4 separate regions of the Homo sapiens genome follow, and all the other regions are linked to region 1. Evidence: promoter capture Hi-C in human tissues and cell types (Jung and others, 2019). All regions are on one chromosome and are shown on one strand. The core of a region is centred on a gene start or on the middle of the fragment in contact, and the rest is flanking DNA. Distances in the headings are between cores, read along the strand shown.

What was found. Contacts are between HindIII fragments. The study calls those that stand out against the background at their distance.
Region 2: a fragment that was not itself captured here is called in contact with the fragment with the promoter of GPC1 in region 1 in 1 of the 25 tissues and cell types used here (dorsolateral prefrontal cortex).
Region 3: a fragment that was not itself captured here is called in contact with the fragment with the promoter of GPC1 in region 1 in 1 of the 25 tissues and cell types used here (lymphoblastoid cells).
Region 4: a fragment that was not itself captured here is called in contact with the fragment with the promoter of GPC1 in region 1 in 1 of the 25 tissues and cell types used here (lymphoblastoid cells).

What each region holds. Positions count from the first base shown.
Region 1 is chr2:240,434,280-240,436,979 of GRCh38, reverse strand. GPC1 (glypican 1) reads right to left here and starts at 1,317. Exons shown (of 9, transcript NM_002081.3): 1 at 896-1,317. The coding sequence starts at 1,061. RefSeq lists silencers at 1,069-1,128, 1,189-1,848 and enhancers at 1,678-2,254, 2,654-2,700. The HindIII fragment of the contact is 16,928 bases long and covers 1-2,700 here.
Region 2 is chr2:240,130,872-240,133,583 of GRCh38, reverse strand. It overlaps COPS9 (COP9 signalosome subunit 9), which reads left to right. Exons shown (of 3, transcript NM_001163424.2): 3 at 2,496-2,712. The coding sequence ends at 2,533. Among named protein-coding and RNA genes, the nearest start is that of COPS9, 4.1 kb to the left of the region's middle. The HindIII fragment of the contact is 5,894 bases long and covers 1-2,712 here.
Region 3 is chr2:240,070,389-240,073,105 of GRCh38, reverse strand. No RefSeq gene overlaps it. Among named protein-coding and RNA genes, the nearest start is that of OR6B3, 18 kb to the right of the region's middle. The HindIII fragment of the contact is 5,248 bases long and covers 1-2,717 here.
Region 4 is chr2:240,834,729-240,837,428 of GRCh38, reverse strand. No RefSeq gene overlaps it. Among named protein-coding and RNA genes, the nearest start is that of KIF1A, 16 kb to the right of the region's middle. The HindIII fragment of the contact is 6,293 bases long and covers 1-2,700 here.

The DNA.
Region 1 (2,700 bases), core at 68-2,567:
AGCCCACCGTTCCACCCACCCGTACACTTCTGTCCCCAAAGCTCCTCCGGGACCACAGGGAGGGAAGAGGCAGAGCCGCAGGCGGCTGCAGGGCTTAGGGGGCGCCAAGAGGGCCGCTGTTCTTACAAAGAAATGACACGGCCCCTGGGCGGGATCCAACGCGCCGACCACCTGCAGCTGGACTCGCGGCACGAGGCTGCCCAAGCGCCAGGCGGGGGCCGGCGCGTACAAGTTCTTCGACAGGAATCTCTACGAGGCGGCGGCGTTCCGCCCGCGGATAAGTGCCCAGCTCCCTCCCCACCCCTCCGCACTACCCCCCGAGGGGGTCAGCTTATAAAACCCACCTAGGCTGCCTTTGCTGGAGACCCTACGAGAATCCCCGGGCAGGACCGGAGACGCCTCCCAGAGAGGTCTGTACAGAGCAGAAGGGGTCCGCGGCCACCGTCAGCGGCGCCCCGAAAGCCCGGCCACGCCGAGCCCCACAGCGCCCCGACAGCCGGCCCCGGGGCTGGGACTCCCGGCCTGCAGGCGCGCTGGGCCGAGCGGCGGGCAGAAGACGCCCAGCTCCAGCCGTGGCCCGGGAGGAGCGCCCCGAGCCCGCAGCCCGGCGAGATCAGCTCCGCAGGGAAGAAGCCGGCGTGCGGGGGGCGGGGAGGGGCGGAGGACGACCGAGCGGGGCGGAGGAGACCCTGGCGAGGGAGTGCGGCGCGGGGCTTGGAGGCGAGGGCCGTGGGGTTGCAGAGGAGCCGCAGCGCAGGGAGCCATTCGGGGCCCGGGCGGCGGGGCGCAGGCGGCAGGATCCCGCGCCGGGGGCGAGTAGCCGCGTCGGGAAGACCAGGGTCCGGAGCCCAAAGCCCGGCCAGGCCCGGGTTCCCGGCGCCGCGCCCTCACTCACCCGAGATCTCCGCCTGGGGCACGTCGCTCAGGCTGAAGCCCTTGGCTCCGTAGATCTGGCGGACCTCGCCGCAGCTCCGGCTCTTGCTGGCCGGGTCCCCGCGGGCGCAGGCGACCAGCGCTGCGGCCGCACATAGCAGCCACCAGCCTCGGGCCCGGAGCTCCATGGCGGGGCCGGCGGCGCCCCCGGCCACCCGCCCGCGCCTCTCTCGGATCCTGGCCGGGTCCTGCGCAGTTCCCGCCCGCGAAGGGCAGAGCCAAGGTCCCGGCGCGCGCGGCTCGCGGTCCAGAGGCGGCGGCGGCCGAGGAGGCGGAGACAACAAAAGCCGGCGGCGGCGGCGGCGCGGGGCGCGCGGGGTGCGAGGTCCGAACGCTCGCTCGGGCAGCCCAGAGCGCGGCGGGCTAGCGCAGTCCCGGCTCGGCGCCTCCCCCGCCGCCGGCCCGGCCCCTAGGCGGCCGCGGGAGAGGAGAGGGGCGGGGCAGGGTGGGAGCGCAGGGGTGGGGGAGGGACTGGGAGCACCGGGCGGGGCGGGGCGGGGCGCGGCGCGGGGGCGCGGGCCGGGGCGCACTGGGCGCTCCTCTGGCTCTTAGGGACCCAGAGGGCCCGCCTGGCCGCGCGACTCTATCGATCCCCGGCGGGAGGCGGCGGAGCCGGGCAGCGCGGGGCCGCGGCCGGGGTCCCCGAGGGCGGCCCCCCACGCCCAGCGCCCAGGGCGGTGGCACCACCTGTGGGGGCGGGGACGGGGGCGGAGGGTGCGCGAGGCAGGGCTTCCCCCGCCGGACGTGACATCACGCCTCCCGCGCCCCAATCAGGGGCCTCCCCGCCCCCAGCCGAAATCGGCATCCCGCTCCCCGCTCCCTCCCGCGCGCTCCGGCTTCCTGCACCCTGGCAGCGCGCCCCGAGAACGCTCTCCCGGCGCCTCCGTACCCTCCGCCCGCCGGCCGCGCCTCGAGCCGCCGCCCCTCTCCCCGCCTGCACCCCGCAGCGGCTCCCTCCCCGCGCCCTTCCAGCCGTCTCGCGCTGGGCTCCGGCTCGCACCGGGGGCTTTTGTGGTGTGGGGGCTGCACGCAGGAAACTCGCCAAGAAACTCGACCTCACCTCTCCCAGTCCCAGGGAGCGGCAACAGATGGCTTAATTGTTGGACCTTGACAGCTGTTTTGGGGGGGTGACCCTCCACGTTCTTTGGATGCTGGAGAAACCAAAGTGATGGGGCAGGGCCGGTCTACTGGTTTGGGCTGCTGGGTGGGGCCAGATGACCTCTGGAGAAGGGATAGGGTTGGAACCCGGCGACTAGTTAGGCCACTGGGGGAGGAGGGTGGAGTGAGCCGGAGCAGATGCCTCTTTGAAGAAGGCGGGAGGGCTGCCTGCACCTTGTATGGTAGGAGGGCGCGTGGCTTTAGCTGCACATGGGGAGTTGGGCTGGATGGGGTCTGTAGGGAGGGGGCGAGGACTGCGATGTTGGTGTCTGGAGGGCTTCACTCCTTCCTTGGCTCCCAGACCCCCCACCCCGGCCCCCTGTTCTCCACATGGTAAGGCCTGGCGGTGAAGCCAGGTGCCTGAGCTGCAGAATTGGGGGCAGGCATAGAGGTCAGTATCCTTGGCAGAGAACCTCAAGATGACCCCCATGTACAGCAAGGGTGTCCTGATTTCAGGGCCTGTGGCATCACCTGGAAGCTGCAGCGGGGTCCGTGGTGGGGGTGGTGGCAACATTCCCTACCCCTTCTGTGCCTGGGGCTCTCAGCCGCTGTGTGGGGCTGGAGCAGGAAGGTGGGGTGCCCTCCCCCTGGGCTCTTGGGGTTTCCTGC
Region 2 (2,712 bases), core at 135-2,634, 300 kb after region 1:
TGTCTCCGCCCTCTCCGGGTAGCCGGTTTCCTTTCCTCTCCCAGCCCACCTGTGTTTGCCTGCCTGGGTTCTCATGCCCTCAGCTGCCTTTGCAGAGGGACAGCCATACTCCAGCTCTTGCCCAGCTCTGAAATCAGGACGCAGGATGTGTTTTCCTCTTGATTTAAGGGCTTCAGTGCTAGTTACCAAAAACATGGGTAAACCAAATGAACAGTGAAAAGCAAATTTTCTGTAACATCTTCAGACCTGCTAGAGGGAATATTTCTCATTCTCTTCTGATTTCTTCAGGCCTTATTCCTATAGATGATATTAACCTTTACTAAGGGTTCAAATAATAAGTAAATAAGATAGGTTTCTTACTCCAGAGAGTGAGGTGGCATTTTTCATCCTGGTTTAATCCATGGTGCTTTTCTCTACAGAAAGCTCTTGTTACTAGTTAACAGCTAGGACCTGAGCTTGCCACATCGGTTTCTAATTTACCAGAGACCCCCTGCCATCCTGAGTCCCTGCTGCTTCATCAGGCTTACTGTCAGGCAGCCATTGCCTGAGGGGAGCAGCCAAGCTGCTGAGTTGGGGTGCAGGCTTTCCCAGGGTGCCTGGCCATGCCCCTGAGGCAGCATTCTTACTGCTACCAACTGGAGTCAGAACTGAGGCAGATGACATTTGAGATGAGCCTGGAGAACTGAATAGCATTTATTTCAATTCTTTATGCCAGAGCGAGGTGGGAGAAGGGTGTTGCCTTCAGAGGGAACAAATTGTACAAAGCTGCAGAGCGCTCTCCAAAGCTGCTTTGCAAAAACACCAGCTCACCAGGGCGACTTTGAAGCTTTTCACGTGGGCAGGATTGGGCAGTTGCTAATGCTGGCACCACACGCTTGCATTTTGATGATCTCCTTCAAAGTCCCATTTATCCTCTGCCAGCCCATTGGTTAGAGGCGATTGCTGTGTTCTAGTGTTTGAGTTCACATGACTTCCAGAGTCAGCCCTTGAATCCTGACGGGAAAGCATCTCTGAGAGGGACCCAGGTCCTACCCGTCAGGTGAGCGCCCAGCAACCTGAGCATTGTGGGCGCGTGTCTGCCTTTGAGCCACGGCCGGTCAGGGAGGGGACGCAGGAGAGCTCTGTGTCCCCTGCCTGCCCACCCACTAAGTTCACAAAGCACTCACTGTCCCATCAGGTTGTGACAACCCCATGTGTTCAAGAAGCCATTTACTTTGAGAGACCTCTGTGGGCTGTGGATGAGGCTTTTGCTAAGTCCTTTTTACTCGTCAAACAGATGGGTTTGCTGGGCTGTTACACCCTGGGCACCAGGGTTCTAGCCACGAAAGAGACACTCTCTCTTCCCTCGCCATGTCTTACAAAATTGTGGGTCCAGACAAGTCAGCAGGCAGGGGCTGGACTGTGACAAGAGCCCTGGCAAAGCGTGGACGGCATTGTTTCTGGGAGCACTGCAGAGGGAGGTTTCTCCAGAGGGGGCAGCAGAGCAGAGGTCGGAAGGTGTGGAGTCAGCCAGGCCCAGGACTGCGCAAAAGTGCTCCTAGCGGCGAACCACAACCAGCAGTCGGGAGGCAGTGAGGACGTGGGGGTGCATCAGTGTGGCTGGGGAGCGTCGGGACCCTCTGCAGTATCCAGAGATGCCTCAGGGACGCCACCCTCCCCAGGAAGGCTGGATGCTGTGGTGCCAGCAGGCCCCTTTCTCTTCGCTCTGACCCTCCAGGAGTTGAACCTCCTCTTTCTAGTTCATAATTCATACTGCACATTTTCAGTGCGCAGTACATGTGGGTGGGCTTTTAGTTGTATTTTCACCTCCCATTGTGAAAGTGATGATTGCCTGTAGTAGGGAATTTGAAAAACACAGAAGACTAAACAGAAGGACAAAATCTTTCCTGGGGGGCCTGATTTTGATCACCCAAAGCAGGGCACTACGTGTTTGCTGCGTTTCTTCCAGTGAGAATGGGCCTTAGCAGGTGTTTCTCAGGCTTGAGTATCATTCACGCTCCCTTACTGGAGGCTTCACCTTTCTGCAGCCTAGCCCGGCTTTCTCATGCTCACAGCGGCAGCCGGCTGGTTTCCCTCTGCTCTCAAGGACCCAGCACGTGCCTCCCAGCTTCATCTCTCCCCGGCCCCGGCAGCGAGGGCAGCATCTTGGGTGCCCGTGCACTCGTGGGTGCAGACACGGCACTGGCGTGTCCTGAGTGCTGAGTTGTGGCTGTGCGGTGGTGTCCGTGGGACTCAGAACAGCCCTGCATGCATTTTCTTAGGATTGTCTTTTAAATGAAAGCTAGAAAGCACTCTAGCCAACACTCTCCCCTTGGACTACATGTACGAGCCCTGGTTGGCTGAAACTGAAAGTCTGTTACGGGAAAAGTCTTTTATTTCATTGGATCATTGACGATTATCTCTGTATTTTGGACTACTATATAATTCATTCTGAAGTGATTTCTTCAGCCCTTACCCTTGTAGGTGTAACTACGTGGTTTTGCTTATTTCCCTAGATTTTGAAGATCTTTTTGATGATGATGACATCCAGTGAGATGCCCTCTGGCTGCAGGCGGGGCCAAGCCCTTGGTACAGAGCCGCAGTGTGAGCCTGCGCAGGACAGTTTCAGGTGGTTTTAAAGAACACGTGGAAATCCCTTGAATTTAGGACCTGGTTAACCAGAAAGATAAGACTGTTCTTAACGACCTAGATGATTCTGTTCATCTCTGAACG
Region 3 (2,717 bases), core at 67-2,566, 360 kb after region 1:
CAGCACTTTGGGAGGCCGAGGCAGGTGGATTATGAGGTCAGGAGATCGAGACCATCCTGGCCAACACCGTGAAACCCCGTCTGTCCATTGAGATGGACAGACTGGACTCCATCTCAAAAAAACAAAACAAAACAAAACTAACTGGAGATGGACAAAGGTTAGAAACGCACAAATATAGGAGAGGAAATACAAATGAACGATCAACATGAAAAGATTGTAAGTCTCAATGATAAACATCAATTTTCCATGAACAAAGTAAACTATGAGGTTAAATATGCTCAACCTCAATGAAGAGACATTAAATTTCAATGATTGGGGAAAATAAAACCCGAAATAGTTATGTTTTGTTCATAAGTTTGTCAAACATTAAAAGGATCGCTGGCACCTGGTTTTTGATAAGAATGTCATCTTCACTTGGTTATCTCAGAGATCTCTCATAATGGACCTATCCAAAAAAATCCTCTCTTAATCTTTCCTTCCCAATCTCTTCTTTATTTCATTTCTGGATCTTCCATTCATCACTCAAGCCAAACATCTGAAATTCTTAAAAACATCTTTTTCTTTCTCTTATAATATCTAACTTATTTCCAGTCATAACCTGCATCATTAAGACATTTAAAAGTGGAAACAAGGCCCAGCACAGTGGCTCATGCCTGTAATCTCAGCACTTTGGGAAGCCGAGGTGGGCAGATTGCTTGAGCTTAGGAGTTCGAGACCAGCCTGAGCAACACGGCAAAACCCCACCTCTACAAAACATACGAAAATTAGCCGGGCATGGTGGTGCACACCTGTAGACCCAGCTACTTGGGAGAATGAGGTGGGAGGATCGCTTGAGCCCAGGAGGTTGAGGCTGCAGTGAGCTGTGATCATGCCACTGCCCTTCGGCCTGGACAACAGAGTGAGAACCTAACTCAAAGAAAAGAAAAGAAAAGCGAAAACAATAACACAAGTTTTAGCATATGTAGGATAACTTCATTCATGTTAAAAATATTCAATACATATCCATGTGAAAATCAATGTATATAAATGCAAAGGCAAATAACTGGGTGATGTAAGTCTATTTACATCACTTACTTCTGCCAAGGATAATGGGGAAGGAAAAGGGAGATTGGAAAGTAAGAGGGGGCTTCAGTGTCTCATTTCTTATTCTTATAAATTTATAGACTTCTTTCCATGTGACTGTGTTTCCAAGAAATAAGATAGCTGAATCGATAAACTTATTGTTTTAAAAAATATGAACTAACAGACAGCTACAGCTATTATGACAATTCCCCATAAATACCCAAACCCATTTTCCATGTTTTATTTATATGTTCTAAACGCTTTGTTGCATATTCCTCCAGATTATATATTTCTGGGTGCCTATCTCTGTGTCTGTCTGTTATTTTCTCCCTCTCTTTTTCTGACAGAGTCACAGTTTTTCTCTATATGGGTGGACTACAGTTTACATGCTTTATTTAACCAATGTCCTATTGAAAGATTTTTTTTTTTTTTTTTGGCAGGGTCTCACTCTGTCACCCAGGCTGGAGTGCAGTGGCCCGATCTCAGTTCACTGCAACCTCTGCCTCCCGGGTTCAAGTGATTCTCCTGCCTCGGCCTCCCGAGTAGCTGGGATTACAGGTGCACATCACTATGCCCGGCTAATTTTTGTATTTTTAGTAGAGATGGGGTTTCACCATGTTGGCCAGGCTGGTCTCGAACTCCTGACCTCAGGTGATCTGCCTGCCTTGGCCCCCCAAAGTGCTGGGATTCTAGGCCTGAGCCTCCATGCCCGGCCCCTACTGAAAGATTTATAAGTTGTTTCTTATATATTTATAATTTGTTTCTTATATTTCCATTGTTTCCTAAGGGACTGCAACAAAAGTCTGTCTGCACCAGAACAATGATTTTTGGAGGCGAGATTCATAATAATAGATGAAGAGTGTCAGAAGGTAGGTTCCTTTTACAAGGGCTGATAAATTATCCTCCAAACATGAAATGCTAATTAACACTTCAAAGTGCTGAGTTGGCCTATTTCCCCACAACCTGTGATGATTAAATTTAATTAGTATTTTTGAATTTCAGCTACTCTGACAGGCCCGAAGAAAAAATAATACTTCAATGTTATTTGTCAAACCGTATTCACTTAATTTTAAGTGATGTCAATCATATTTTCTTACATTTTTTGGCCACTGATAATTCTTTTTTTGAAGTTTTAAATCATATTCCGTGTTTATCTTGGAATATAGAAGCTGTTGGAAAGTTTACCTTTCGTGAATCCATTTTTTAAAATTACTAGAAATTTGACCAAATGATGCTTGACTTGGGATAAAACATCAATTTAAGAAAAATAAATGTTCAAGAAACACAGCAGTGAATAATGAATTCAGAGGCCGGACTTCCAAAATGGTGGCATGAGGGTTTCTATAAATCTGATCCTCCAGGCCAGGTGCAGTGGTTCATGCCTGTAATCCCAGCACTTTGGGAGGCCGAGGGGGGCAGATCACTTGAGGTCAGGAGTCTGGCCTGGCCAACTTGGTGAAACCCCCATCTCTACAAAATATACAAAAAAAATTAGCTGGGCATGGTGACAAATGCCTGCAATCCCAGCTACTCGGGAGGCTGAGGCAGGAGAATTGCTTGAATCCAGGAGGTAGAGGTTTCAGTGAGCCAAGATTGCGCCACTGCACTCCAGCCTGTGGGACAGAGACAGACTTGTCTCAAAAAAAAAAAAAAAA
Region 4 (2,700 bases), core at 118-2,617, 400 kb before region 1:
CTTGTGTAAGTGTCTGTCATCAGAAAGATGGCAGGTTGCCCTGGGGAGGATGGTGTCTTACTCGGTTCCGTCCCTGCCAGCATCTAGCACTGTGGTCAAGTCCTCTACATGCTGTCCCCAGAGAACCTCTAGTCCCCAGCCTCCTGCTCTGTGTGTAGGCTGACAGCAGAATCCAGACCCAAGTCACTGGGGAGCACCCAATTTGCTTCCTCTCCTCCTCAGCTAAGGGTGAGCAGCAGGGGTGACCCCAGCTATTAGCCCCACCTAGCACACAGCACAGCGGCCCTGCAGAGGGGCAGCCCTTCCCACTGCCATGCTGCAGCTCCAGACACAGAGGAAGCTCAGGGCTTCCAGGGTCTTTGTGGATGAACAGATGAGGGAAAACTGGAGGGACTGGGAGCAGCAAAAGCAGAGGGGTAGGGGACTTGGACTGACGTGTCAACAGCTAACACTTCGTTCTGGTCCTGGTCCCCAGGAGCAGCTGGTCCTGGTCCGGGAGCAGCTGCCTGCCGACACGGCTGCGCTGCGATGGGATCTGGCCCCAGCCCAGTTGCTGCTGGCCAGACACTGAGTCAGCACCCGGCCGTCCAGTGCGCCACAAGCAGATCCCGGCAGAGCTGCCCACGCTGTGCAGATCCCCGGTGGGCCTCCCGGGCTAGAGCCCGGGGACCCATTCACTTGGGGCCCTACCAGTCCCTACCCTTGGTTGGCTGGGGGCTGCCCAGCCTGGGCCCCACCCACCCAGGGCTCTGGTTTCTGAGTCCGGGGCCCAGCAAAGCCCCTCTTTCACTCCTTCCTGAAATGGGATCATGACCCTGGTCCTACCTCTGAGTGATTCTGATGTGAGATTAGGGATTGTGCAGGGATGGGGGTGTGATCCTGCAATGACGGACTCCTAGGCCTCCTCCCAGCCCCGCAGAGTCCAAATCCCCAAGGCAGGGGCTGAGGAGGGCGAGGCTCATAGAACCCAGGACTCCTGGGGGTCCTGAGCATCTGGGGCCTCCCGGCTCTCGTGACTTCACATCCTGGCCTCTTCCCACCCACTGGAGCTCTGAGGGTCTCAGCCTCTCTCCACTTGACATCTCTTTCTTTCTTTCTTTTTTTTTTTTTTTGGAGACGGAGTCTCGCTCTGTCGCCCAGGCTGGAGTGCAGTGGCACGATCTTGGCACACTGCAAGCTCTGCCTCCTGGTTTCACGCCATTCTCCTGCCTCAGCCTCCCGAGTAGCTGGGATTACAGGCGCCCGCTACAACGTCCGGCTAATTTTTTGTGTTTTTAGTAGGGACGGGGTTTCACCATGTTAGCCAGGATGGTCTCGATCTTCTGACCTTGTGATCTGCCCGCCTCAGCCTCCCAAAGTGCTGGGATTACAGGCGCGAGCCACCGCGCCTGGCCTTCTTTCTTTCCCACTCATGCGTGTATACATACACACACACAGACACACACAGACACACACACACACACACACACACACACAGACACACACACACGCCCCTTCCCAACAAACTGTCCCAAACCTAATGTGGATAAATACAGAATGTGGTGCTAAGTGTCTCCAAAAACGCAGCAAGCCTCGGCCTCCTTTTCTGTCCACTGCACTGAGAACTCCAGGTCTGGGAGTTCCCTGTGGTGTGAAGGGCACCTGTGTCATTTGCCGCCCAAGCCGGGCACTGTGAGAGTGAAAGAGGGCATGGGCACAAAAGCACAAGGCAGGACTGTCCTGCTGGGCCTGGACACGGGGTCACCCTCAGCAGCCCCAGGGTCAGAAACTGGCGCGACTATCTTCAGAAATCCCACGTTGGTGCAATTCATCGTGGCTCCTCCTCACCCTCTTCCCCTCAGGATGACCCAGTTTTGGGTTTGGTCCTCAAGAGTCTCCAATAAACATCTTCACCAGACCTGTTTCCTGGGGCAAAAACCTGGTTGTTTATTTCTCTTTATGACTTCTATAAACATTTGGATTTTCAGGAGAAAAACAAGAAATAGGGAGTGGACACTTGTTCTTCTAGCAGAGGAATGGGAAGGGCCATTCATCTGGCATCGTCTGTCCTGCGTCCTGGTCCTGACTCCCTTCTGAGCCTCAATTTCTCCATCCGTAAAATGGGGAGGAGGCCTGGACCCCAGTCCCAAGCACAGAGTAATGATTTTGAGAACATATGTCCACTAAAACAGGATGGAACAAAAACACAGTCACTGTGGGCGAGCATTTGGAAGTGTGTAAGGAGGAAATGCTGCTTTGCATCTTCTCTCTGCCCATCTGATTCTCCGGCAGGCAAGAGGTGATCATAGCCAGGACTTCTCCTGATTGATGGCTGCCCATGCCAGGGGTCCCAGGGCCCAGCCACACACAGAACCACTTGGCGTGCTTAACTAGGAGCCCCCATAACTCACGGAGAACAATGGAGTCAGGATCTCTGAGGGATACAGCAGGGTGATTCTGATCTGCAGCCAGGGTGAGCACCCTGCGTTAGAAGGTACTACCAGCCTCCATGGCTGAGCTGGGTGGAAGCTGTTTATGAATGACGAGGATTTGGGAGGGGTGGGCTTGAGTGGGGAGAGGTCATTGCCAAGCCTTAACATTAGTGCAGAGAGAGGCTGACCTCATGCCTCCATTGGTGAAAAGCCAGGCTGGGGGCTTCCTACCAGGGAACCTGCTTCCTCCCATCCTCTAAGCACTGCCTTGCTCTGGCCCCAAAGAAGC